2 separate regions of the Homo sapiens genome follow, and region 2 is linked to region 1. Evidence: promoter capture Hi-C in 16 types of primary human blood cells and fetal thymus (Javierre and others, 2016). All regions are on one chromosome and are shown on one strand. The core of a region is centred on a gene start or on the middle of the fragment in contact, and the rest is flanking DNA. Distances in the headings are between cores, read along the strand shown.

What was found. The method cuts DNA at HindIII sites, captures the fragments that hold promoters and counts their contacts. A CHiCAGO score of 5 or more calls a contact.
Region 2: a fragment that was not itself captured here is called in contact with the fragment with the promoter of MON1A in region 1 in 1 of 17 cell types (endothelial precursors); the score reaches 8.3 in endothelial precursors.

Annotation. Positions count from the first base shown.
Region 1 is chr3:49,927,602-49,932,157 of GRCh38, forward strand. It overlaps MON1A (MON1 vesicular trafficking associated A), which reads right to left and starts at 2,210. Exons shown (of 6, transcript NM_032355.4): 1 at 2,008-2,210. RefSeq lists a silencer at 1,917-2,266. The HindIII fragment of the contact is 4,855 bases long and covers 1-2,750 here.
Region 2 is chr3:50,043,958-50,048,513 of GRCh38, forward strand. It overlaps RBM6 (RNA binding motif protein 6), which reads left to right. Exons shown (of 21, transcript NM_005777.3): 7 at 4,288-4,362. Among named protein-coding and RNA genes, the nearest start is that of RBM5, 43 kb to the right of the region's middle. The HindIII fragment of the contact is 2,076 bases long and covers 1,654-3,729 here.

The sequences.
Region 1 (4,556 bases), core at 960-3,459:
TAGACAGTTGGGAGTCAGGTCAAAGAGCTGTCTTATAGACAGCTGGGAGTTCCTCCAGGCTAACTGGTTGTTCACTGGCTCTGGAGTTGCAGGAATAGACAACGGGCTCTCTGCTGCTCTTGGAAGTATCTCCTAAATTAAACTCCTTAATTAGCCAGGTATGGTGGCAGGCGCCTATAATCCCAGCTACTCAGGAGGCTGAGGCAGGAGAATCACTTGAACCCAGGGGGCAGAGGTTGCAGTGAGCTGATATCGCGCCATTGCACTCCAGCCTGGGCAAAAGATTGAAACTCTGTCTCAAAAAAAAAAACAACAAAAAAAAACAAAAAACTCCTTGGTCTGCCACATGCCACTGCTCTGTGACGTTGCACTTTTGGTTCAAAGACCCAAACAAGGTCTACAATAGCTTACTTATTCTGTCCTCAGGGCCCACTCTCCACTGATCCCTTGTGGGCTTTAGCTGACTAAGCCCAGTGTGGCTGAGTGGTACCCAGCACGGTACCTGCATGGGGAAGGGTTGGCGGGGGCCAGATCAGCTGGCCAGAGCTAGTGGATGCTTCCTTCACAATAGTTCTCCTGCCACCTGAGATCATACAGTATCTCAGCATCTCCTAGGTCAGTCTGGGGTCCAGCCAGAGGCCTGATGAAGCAAACAGCTCTCTGAATACTTACTCTGGAAACTCAGACAGGGAGGCTGAGTGAATCACAGCAAAATCCACCCCAACCCCCATTGGAGCCACAACTGTGCAACTGAAGCTCCTGGGAGGCTAGAATTGAAGAAGTTAGGCAAAGGAGGTCTCTTAGAACCAGCCCCAGATGCCCCTTCTCAGGGAACCCTTCTCAGACAACCCCTCTAGAAGCCCCAGGCCTTGCTTTTCCTAGAAGTGCCCTGCTATGCCTGTGAGCAATGTCACCAAACAAGTTGGCTCAATCAGCCCTTGTAGTGTGCCTCTCTCACTCAGGCAGCCTTGGAGCAGAGAAGGCCTTCAGAAGCCCCTCCCTACTGACTCCCTACCACTCCTGCTCCCTCTTCTTGCTTGGATAGCACTTCATTTCACCTTAACCCTTTGGAGCGGCCTGTCTGGAAAGGAGGTGCCAGGATACAGGATGTGTGGCAGACAAGGCCCAGGTGAGGCTGTGCTATGGCTGCTTCAGCAGGATGCCTACTCCATGCTGAGATCACAGTCTGGTCCTTGTCACTTCTGGCGGTTACTTCCCTCCCTGACAAAGGGTGCTCACTCTCCCTCTGCAAACTTGTGCCCAGAAAGGGTGGCTCACCCAGTACAAGGGACAACCCAGTTGCACCAGGCAAACTGGTGCAAAGTCCGGCCAGGCGCAGTGGCTCATGCCTGTAATCCCAGCACTTTGGGAAGCTGAGGCAGGCAGATCACCTGAGGTCAGGAGTTCAAGACGAGCCTGGCCAACATGGTGAAACCCCGTCTCTACTAAAAAAATACAAAAATACAAAAAATTAGCTGGGCGTGGTGGCGCATGCCTGTAATCCCAGCTACTCGGGAGGCTGAGGCAGGAGAATCGCTTGAACCTGGGAGGCGGAGGTTGCAGAGAGCTGAGATCACACCACTGCACTCCAGACTGGGCAACAAGAGTGAAACTCCGTCTAAAAACAACAAAGCAAAGACCCAAGCCCCTTCCAGGTGCTGCCCCGCTCATCCCAGTTACCTCTGTTGCTTTTTGAGAAGACTCTACCGGCCGAATATGTGTACGTTTGTTGGCGGGGCGGGGGTGGGGGAGTGGGGAGAGTCCTACCTGGCCACTGCCCCCTACCGGATCTCGCCCTCCCAGCCAAAGGATGGGTTCCAGATCTCGCCTTTTGTATTCCCCAGCTGGGGACTAGCCGGCTGAGGGACCGCAGGGAGACACAGTCTTCCCATTGCAAACGATAGCGTTGATGGCTGGAGGCCCCCGTCTTCAAGCCCCTCCCTCCAAAGATGACAGCTCTCCAGTCTCTAGGTGCCTCCAGGCCACGTGGGCTGGCAGTCAACTCACCTGTTTCTCAGAGGAGTCCAGGACGCACAGAAGGTGCCGGTCACTGCCCTCTGCCGGACCCATGGAGGGGTAAGGGTGTCCGGCCGGGGCCGGCCTGAGGGCACAGCTTCGCGGGGCCCCGGCCCCCTGCGTACACAGACATGGCCACAGCGCAGGCACCGCTCCCTCCCACCGCCCTCACCCGGCCGCCGGTGCAGGAAGATAGCTTTCGCCGGCCTCTCGCGGCCAAGGCCCAGCTCCAGCCGCTCAGCCCGACTCGGCCCGCCCCCGGGGTGCATTGTGGGAAATGTAGTCCTTAGCGTTTGGCCGCCTGCGGCGCCGAGGGACTGGTTCTGGGCTCCTAGTCCCAGCAGAGCCGTGGGCAGGTCCTGACCCGGGTCCGCGATTGCCTCATCCGGCGCCGCCTTCTAGGGGCCTGGGCGCCTCCTCCGAGTCTAGAGTCCCACACAGAACAGCCCTGGACTCTGGGCCTCTCCGTCCGAGCCAGCTAGCAGTTCATTTCAAGTGAGAGAAAGGGACGTTAGGATTGTTTCTCCCACTGATTGTGGAAGGACAGTGCAAGTTTGGGGGACTGGATAAATGTCATTAGTGGGCCCAGCCACACAGGCTGTAAAGGATGTGGGCATGCGCAAAAGTCGCACTAATTGTTTCTAAAAACATATTTGTAGCCACGTTTTAATGTATCAGTATAATGCTCTAGAACGGTAGTTCTCAACTCTGACGGCACATAGAATAAGCCGGGAAGCTTTAAAAAAAAAAAAAAAGAACTAGGACGGGCGAGGCGGCTCACGCCTGTAATCCCAACACTTGGGAGACCGAGGTGGGCGGATCACTTGAGGTCAGGAGTTCCAGACCAGCCTGGCCAACATGGTGAAACCCCATCTCTACTAAAAATACAAAAACTAGCCAGGCTTGATGGCGTGTGCCTGTAGTCCCAGATACTCGGGAGGCTGAAGTGGGATTCCAGGAGGTCGAGGTTGCTGTGAGCCATGATCATGCCCTGCACTCCAGCCTGAGCACCAGAGCGAGACCCTGTCTCAAAAACAACAACAAAAAAACTAATGCCTGGACACCAGCCCTAGAGATTTTGATTTAATTGAATTTAGAGTAGGGTGGAGTGTTGGGGAGCCAGGCATCACTATTGTTTTAAAAGCTCCCCAGGTGATTTACCATTGCAAAGAATCATTGTTTGTAATTTCCTAGACGCAAAGCAATAAAAACAACAGGAAAACAGTCAACAACAGGCTCTCCCAAAAGACCCTTATTTTTAGAGATGGTTTTAAAAAGTAAAATTAGTGTTTGGCACCACTGCTCATGTTCTTTTCTGAAGCAATTAATTCACTTTACAGCCTTATGGTTAATTCTCCCAAAAGTTAATAGGATGAAAAAAAAAGTCAGATCACTCCTCTGACTTTCCCTGCTGCTCCACAAGCACCTGGGGGCAGTGTCCTTTTCCTCTCTAAGCCCTACACTGGAGTTAGGGTAGAGCTCCGCCCCTGGGCTTTTCTTCCAGTCTCAGATGGCTGCCACTTGTAGCCTGCTTCCACAACACTGGCCTGTGACTGACATGGTGACAAAGCTGTGGCCTTTCACTGAAGATGGCTTTGCATAAGGCTATCAAGTTCTTGCACATAGTCTAAGGGAAGCTTTCTCACCCCCATGTCCCCCACTTTTAGGTAAGGACATAAGAAAATGCCCTATTCCTTAACTGAGAGTCTCTCCAGGTCTCCACAGATCACTCAGTATTTTATCTCCTCATTAGCTCAGAAGTCCAAGTTCCCTCCCTTAGGGCAAGAATCATTTATACAGTTGTTTTCTCTAATTATTACACTATAAGAGTTTGAGCCATGAGCTGGGCTTGGTGGCACAGCCTTGTAATCCCAATTACTCCACAGGCTGAAGCAGGAAGAATTACTTGAGCCCAGGAGATCAAGTCTGAAGTGAGCCATGATCATGGACAACAAGAAGGAGAAAGTTAAGAAAGAAGGAAGGAAGGGAGGGAGGGAGGAAGGAAGGAAGGAAGGAGAGTTTAAGTCAAGATATAACATTCTCTGCTTGGTACAGAAATGTCCTGGCTATGTTCCTTTCCTTTTTCTTTTTCTTTTTTTATTTTTTTTTTAGAGATGGTGGTTTCACTATGCTATGTTGACAAGGCTGGTATCGAACTCTTGGCCTCAAGCAATTTTCCCATCTTGGCCTCCCAAAGTACTGTGATTACAGGCATAAGCCACCATGCCTGGCTAATATCCTGCCTATATTTCATTAACTTGAATTTACACCCTATAGAATTCATCTCCATAGAAGACAAATTAATTTAATTTACTTATTTTTTTTCAAATGAAGTCTCTATCATCCAGGCTAGAGTGCAGTGGTGCCATCTCAGCTCACTGCAACCTCTGCCTTCTGGGTTCAAGTAGTTCTCTGCCTCAGCCTCCCGAGTGGCTGGGATTACAGGTACCTACCACCACGCCCAGCTAATTTTTGTATTTTTAGTAGAGACAGGGTTTCACCATCTTGGCCAGGCTGGTCTTGAACTCCTGACCTCGTGA
Region 2 (4,556 bases), core at 1,442-3,941, 120 kb after region 1:
AGTGCAACCTCCACCTCCCGGGTTCTAGCAATTCTGCCTCAGTCTTCCGACTGGCTGGGACTGCAGGTGTATATCACCGCAACCAGCTAATTTTTTGTATTTTAGTAGAGACAGGGTTTCACTGTGTTGCCCAGGCTGGTCTCGAACTGAGCTCAGGCAGTCCACCCGCCTCGGCCTCCCAAAGTGCTAGGATTACAGGCGTGAGCCACCGTGCCTGGCCTATATGGTACCTCTTTAGGAGCCAGACCTGGTTAATCAGACACATGGCTTTCATGACTCCTTTGCTTGAGTAGCTTAATAACTCAATAAATCAAAAGATGAATAAATATTCTAATGTGTGAAGATACTCTAATAGATAATAGGCAATTAAGAATGGACATCCACGGCTGGGCGCTGGGGCTCATGCCTGTAATCCCAGCACTTTGGGAGGCTGAGGCGGGTGGATCATGAGGTCAGGAGGTAGAGCCCATCCTGGCCAACATGGTGAAACCCCATCTCTGCTAAAATACAAGCTACTCGAGAGGCCGAGGCAGGAGAATTGCTCGAACTTGGGAGGCGGAGGTTGCAGTGAGCCAAAATCGCATCACTGCACTCCAGCCTGGCGACAGAGCGAGACTCCGTCTCAAAAAAAAAAAAAAAGAATGGACATCTACTGAAGGTGATTGCATCATCCTACCCATTCATTAATCTAACTCCCTACAGGATACTTTCCTAGGAGACACTGACAGGTCTGTTTTCTGAAATCCAGAGAAAGGCAGCAATGGGGAGGGGTGCAGTGTATGTATGTCATACCTGTGCTTGGTATATCTGAGTTGCCTGTGTATGATAGCAGCTGGGGAATCAAATCATAGATAAATTGTTCTCATACAGGTTTGTCCTATGACTACCTATTCTTATTAAACAATTGGCTATATTGACCCTTTTTGGTTTTGGAAAAATAATAATAATTTTTTTAAGAGAGAAAAAGAAACAATTGGCTACCCTTCAACAGTGATGTTAAAACCATTTCACATTCTTTAGCAGTGGTCACTGTCCTATGTCTAACTATGTGCAGGTTGAGAAAAAGGACTGCCCGAGTTATAGATGATTCTGTGAGAATAAGAAATCATTGCTTTTGTAACACATGAGGTAAAAGTAATCTCAAAGTTGACATGCTGATGGGGACTCCTGGCAAGGGGAGTTCCCTGCCCTCAACAAAAGGTCATCCACAGCTACTGGAACATTTTTGTTGTCTGAGAAGTATAAAGTGCCTTAGAAATACCTGAATCCATTAATGCCTCCAGTTGGTGAAATCAGAATTTGCAGGTGACTGAAATTGACAGTAGTGCCTTGTTCTTACTCACTGTTCAAATGACAACCCACATGTTTTATGGATTGGGTATACAGATGTATGCTCTAACAGCAGTATCTCCCTCCAGAGCCACTGTGTACCAAGCACCAGGTCCTCCAGGGATAGTTGGCTCTATTCAGTCTTTGATTCATTCAACAAGAGCTTACTAAGCTCCTTTTTGGTACCAGATACTCTTTGTTGCTGAAAATAAATAAAAGGCCAGCAAGATTAAGTAGACTGTGAGATCTGGACCAGTAATTTGACAACACAAAGTACTGTCGTAAAGATACAGTTTCTGATGTGTAGTGACCATTCCGTATGAAAGCTTAGTCTTTCAGGAGATTAAAATGGGTGGTGGAATATTCCTACCTAGCAAGCAAGCAAGGTGAAATGAGTGGCTGTTTGACTCCCACCTGCTGATGCTGGTCTTTTTTGGTTCCTAGGGCTTATAATGATCAACATTTCTTGAGCCCTCACTATATTCTATGCTAAGCTCTTTACATGTATGAATTTACTTAATCTTCACAACCACCCTAAGAAATAGGTACTGTTGTCCTTACTTTACAGATGAGGAAATGGAAGCACAAAGAAGTTAAGGACCTTGCTGAAGGTCATGGAGTAGAGGCAGGATTCAAATTTAGGGAACTCAGCCTACAGTCCATGCTCTTAAAGATGTTATATCCTGTCTCTGGGCTTAGAAGGGGTTCATCTTAGGCCGGACACAGTGGCTCACGTCTGTAATCCCAGCACTTTGGGAGGCCAAAGCGGGCAGATCACGAGGTCAGGAGTTCGAGACCAGCCTGACCAACATAGTGAAACCCCATCTCTACTAAAAATACAAAAATTAGCCAGGCATGGTGGTGTGCGCCTGTAGTCCCAGCTACTCGGGAGGCTGAGGCAGGAGAATTGCTTGAACCTGGGAGGCGGAGGTTGTGGTGAGCCGAGATCGTGCCACTGTACTTGAGAGTGAGTGACAGAGCAAGACTCTGTCTCAAAAAAAAAAAAAAGACGGCCAGGCGCAGTGGCTTACGCCTGTAATCCCAGCACTTTGGGAGGCCGAGGTGGGCGGATTACCTAAGGTTGGGAATTCGAGACCAGCCTGACCAACGTGGAGAAACCCCGTCTCTACTAAAAATACAAAATTAGCCAAGCGTGGTGGCATATATCTATAATCCCAGCTACTCGGGAGGCTGAGGCAGGAGACTCGCTTGAACCTGGGAGGCGGAGGTTGCAGTGAGCCGAGATCACGCCATAGCACTCCAGCCTGGGCAACAAGAGCGAAACTCTGTCTCAGGGAAAAAAAAAAAAAAAAAAGGAGGGGGCGCTTCATCTTGACTAACTTCCTGCATTGGTGGAGCTTGATAGAGTGGTCCTTCCCAGATCCTTCCCTGCATACAGAGCCTGTCTCTTTTCTGATTGGTCCCTAAGGCCAGATTACCTGTCCCTAATACTGAGCAGAAGCTGGTGAATGAAACAGGAGATCCCTCAGTCAAAACAAAAGGAAAAAGAAAAATGAAACAGGAGATCCCTTCTCTACAGCCCAGATGTAAGTCCAGCTGTGCCCTTCACCACCTGGGTGACCCCACCTCTGTGAACATAGGTCCTCATCTGTAAAGTGTAGATAATGTTATTTCATCGGATCATTTAGGGGATTAAATAAGATAATGTACTTCGTGGTTTCTGGCTCTTAGTAAGTGCTTAATAAATGTTAGCGATTTTTATTATCATTGTCCTTAGCCTTGAGAACAAGCCAGGGAATAGTGTCTCAGACCAGATGCTAAGACCTAGGTAGATGGGCAATTTTCCTTGGTTTTGACAAGACAATAATTTTATCCTGTGTATTTCTCTTGACTTTTTTGATGTGAAAAGCAGAGAGGTAAAGCATTATTTGACAGATGTATGGATTCAAGCAAGAAACTGAGGTCCAATTGCAAAGAAATGGCTTGTATAACTCAGAGCCCTGTCTGAGGAAACACAGAGGACCCTAGAGGGCGGAGAATGAACACAGCGCAGGGGCTAGTTCCAGAGTCGCATTCTCGGTTAGTTCACTTTCAAGTGTGGGTGAGGGTCCCTTGTCAGTAGGCAGAGAATTTTTTTCCCCTGCACCAACACATACCTGCTGCCTAGTGTTTATTAAACAAAACTTTATTTTAATGTGAAATAGAATTCATGACTTGTCCAAAATGGAGAGGCAAGGGAGCTCTTTAACAGGCTTGTTGAGCCCCTTTTCCCACCTGTTCCTGTGCCAGACTTTCCCAAAGGCTTACTTGCCAATGGTTGCTCCTCAGATCTCAGGGCTAGCTCACTCTATAGGCTCCAAGCCAGAGTGATACCGCCGCCGCCGCTGTTGCTCCCACCAGCCAATCAGTTTCCTGCTGTAAGGATGTAACTTGCTGTGAAGCTTTCACCTTCCTCCTTTCTTCCTGTCTTCAATGTTGTATGTCTTTGTCCTGGTGCTTTTGCCATACAGCCAGTGTTTCAAAGAAAATTTTCAGGCACTAAAGTTATAGCCCTTACTACCTTTCCAAGGAGATGTGAGATAGCTGTGGAAAAGAAGAGGGCTCCTCTGCCTCTGTGCAGAAGGAACAGTTTACTTCTTGATAGTGTGCTAGCTCCTGAGCTAGGTGGGGGACTTGCTGGGATTCAAGAGAGTGCATTACCTGACCTCTGGACAAGTAGACTGGGCATAGCCTGCCCAAGGACAGCACCCTAACCTGCAGGAACCAAGGCCGAAGACTGATTTCACCTTCTCGTACTCCCCTTTCCTAAGCTAAAGCTTGCTCTGTAACACTGCCCCAGGTCTGTGGCTTAAAACAGCCATTTCCTTTCACCAGTGAATTAAGCTCACTCTTTATAAAATGTTTCAGCTTGGGGATTGGAAAGGCTCTCTGTGCCTTTCTGTCTCTGTCTGTTTCTCCAAGGGTTGATGTTGATGGCTTCTGTCTTTGTCTTTACAGGGAACTCTAATGATCCAGGACAAAGAAGTTACCCTGGAGTATGTATCAAGCCTGGATTTTTGGTACTGCAAACGAGTAAGTACCAAGAATCCCTTTCTTTAGAAGTAAGTATCTGGAATAACAGCTCCTCCATATCTCTAGGAAGGCTGCCTGCTAACATGCATTCCCAAGGACAAAGCTCTTCTTCCTCAGGTCACTTCAGTTGAACAGGAGGAGGTCAAGACAAGGTCATTCATAATTTCTCCTTCCCAGCTGCTACATGTGGCCAT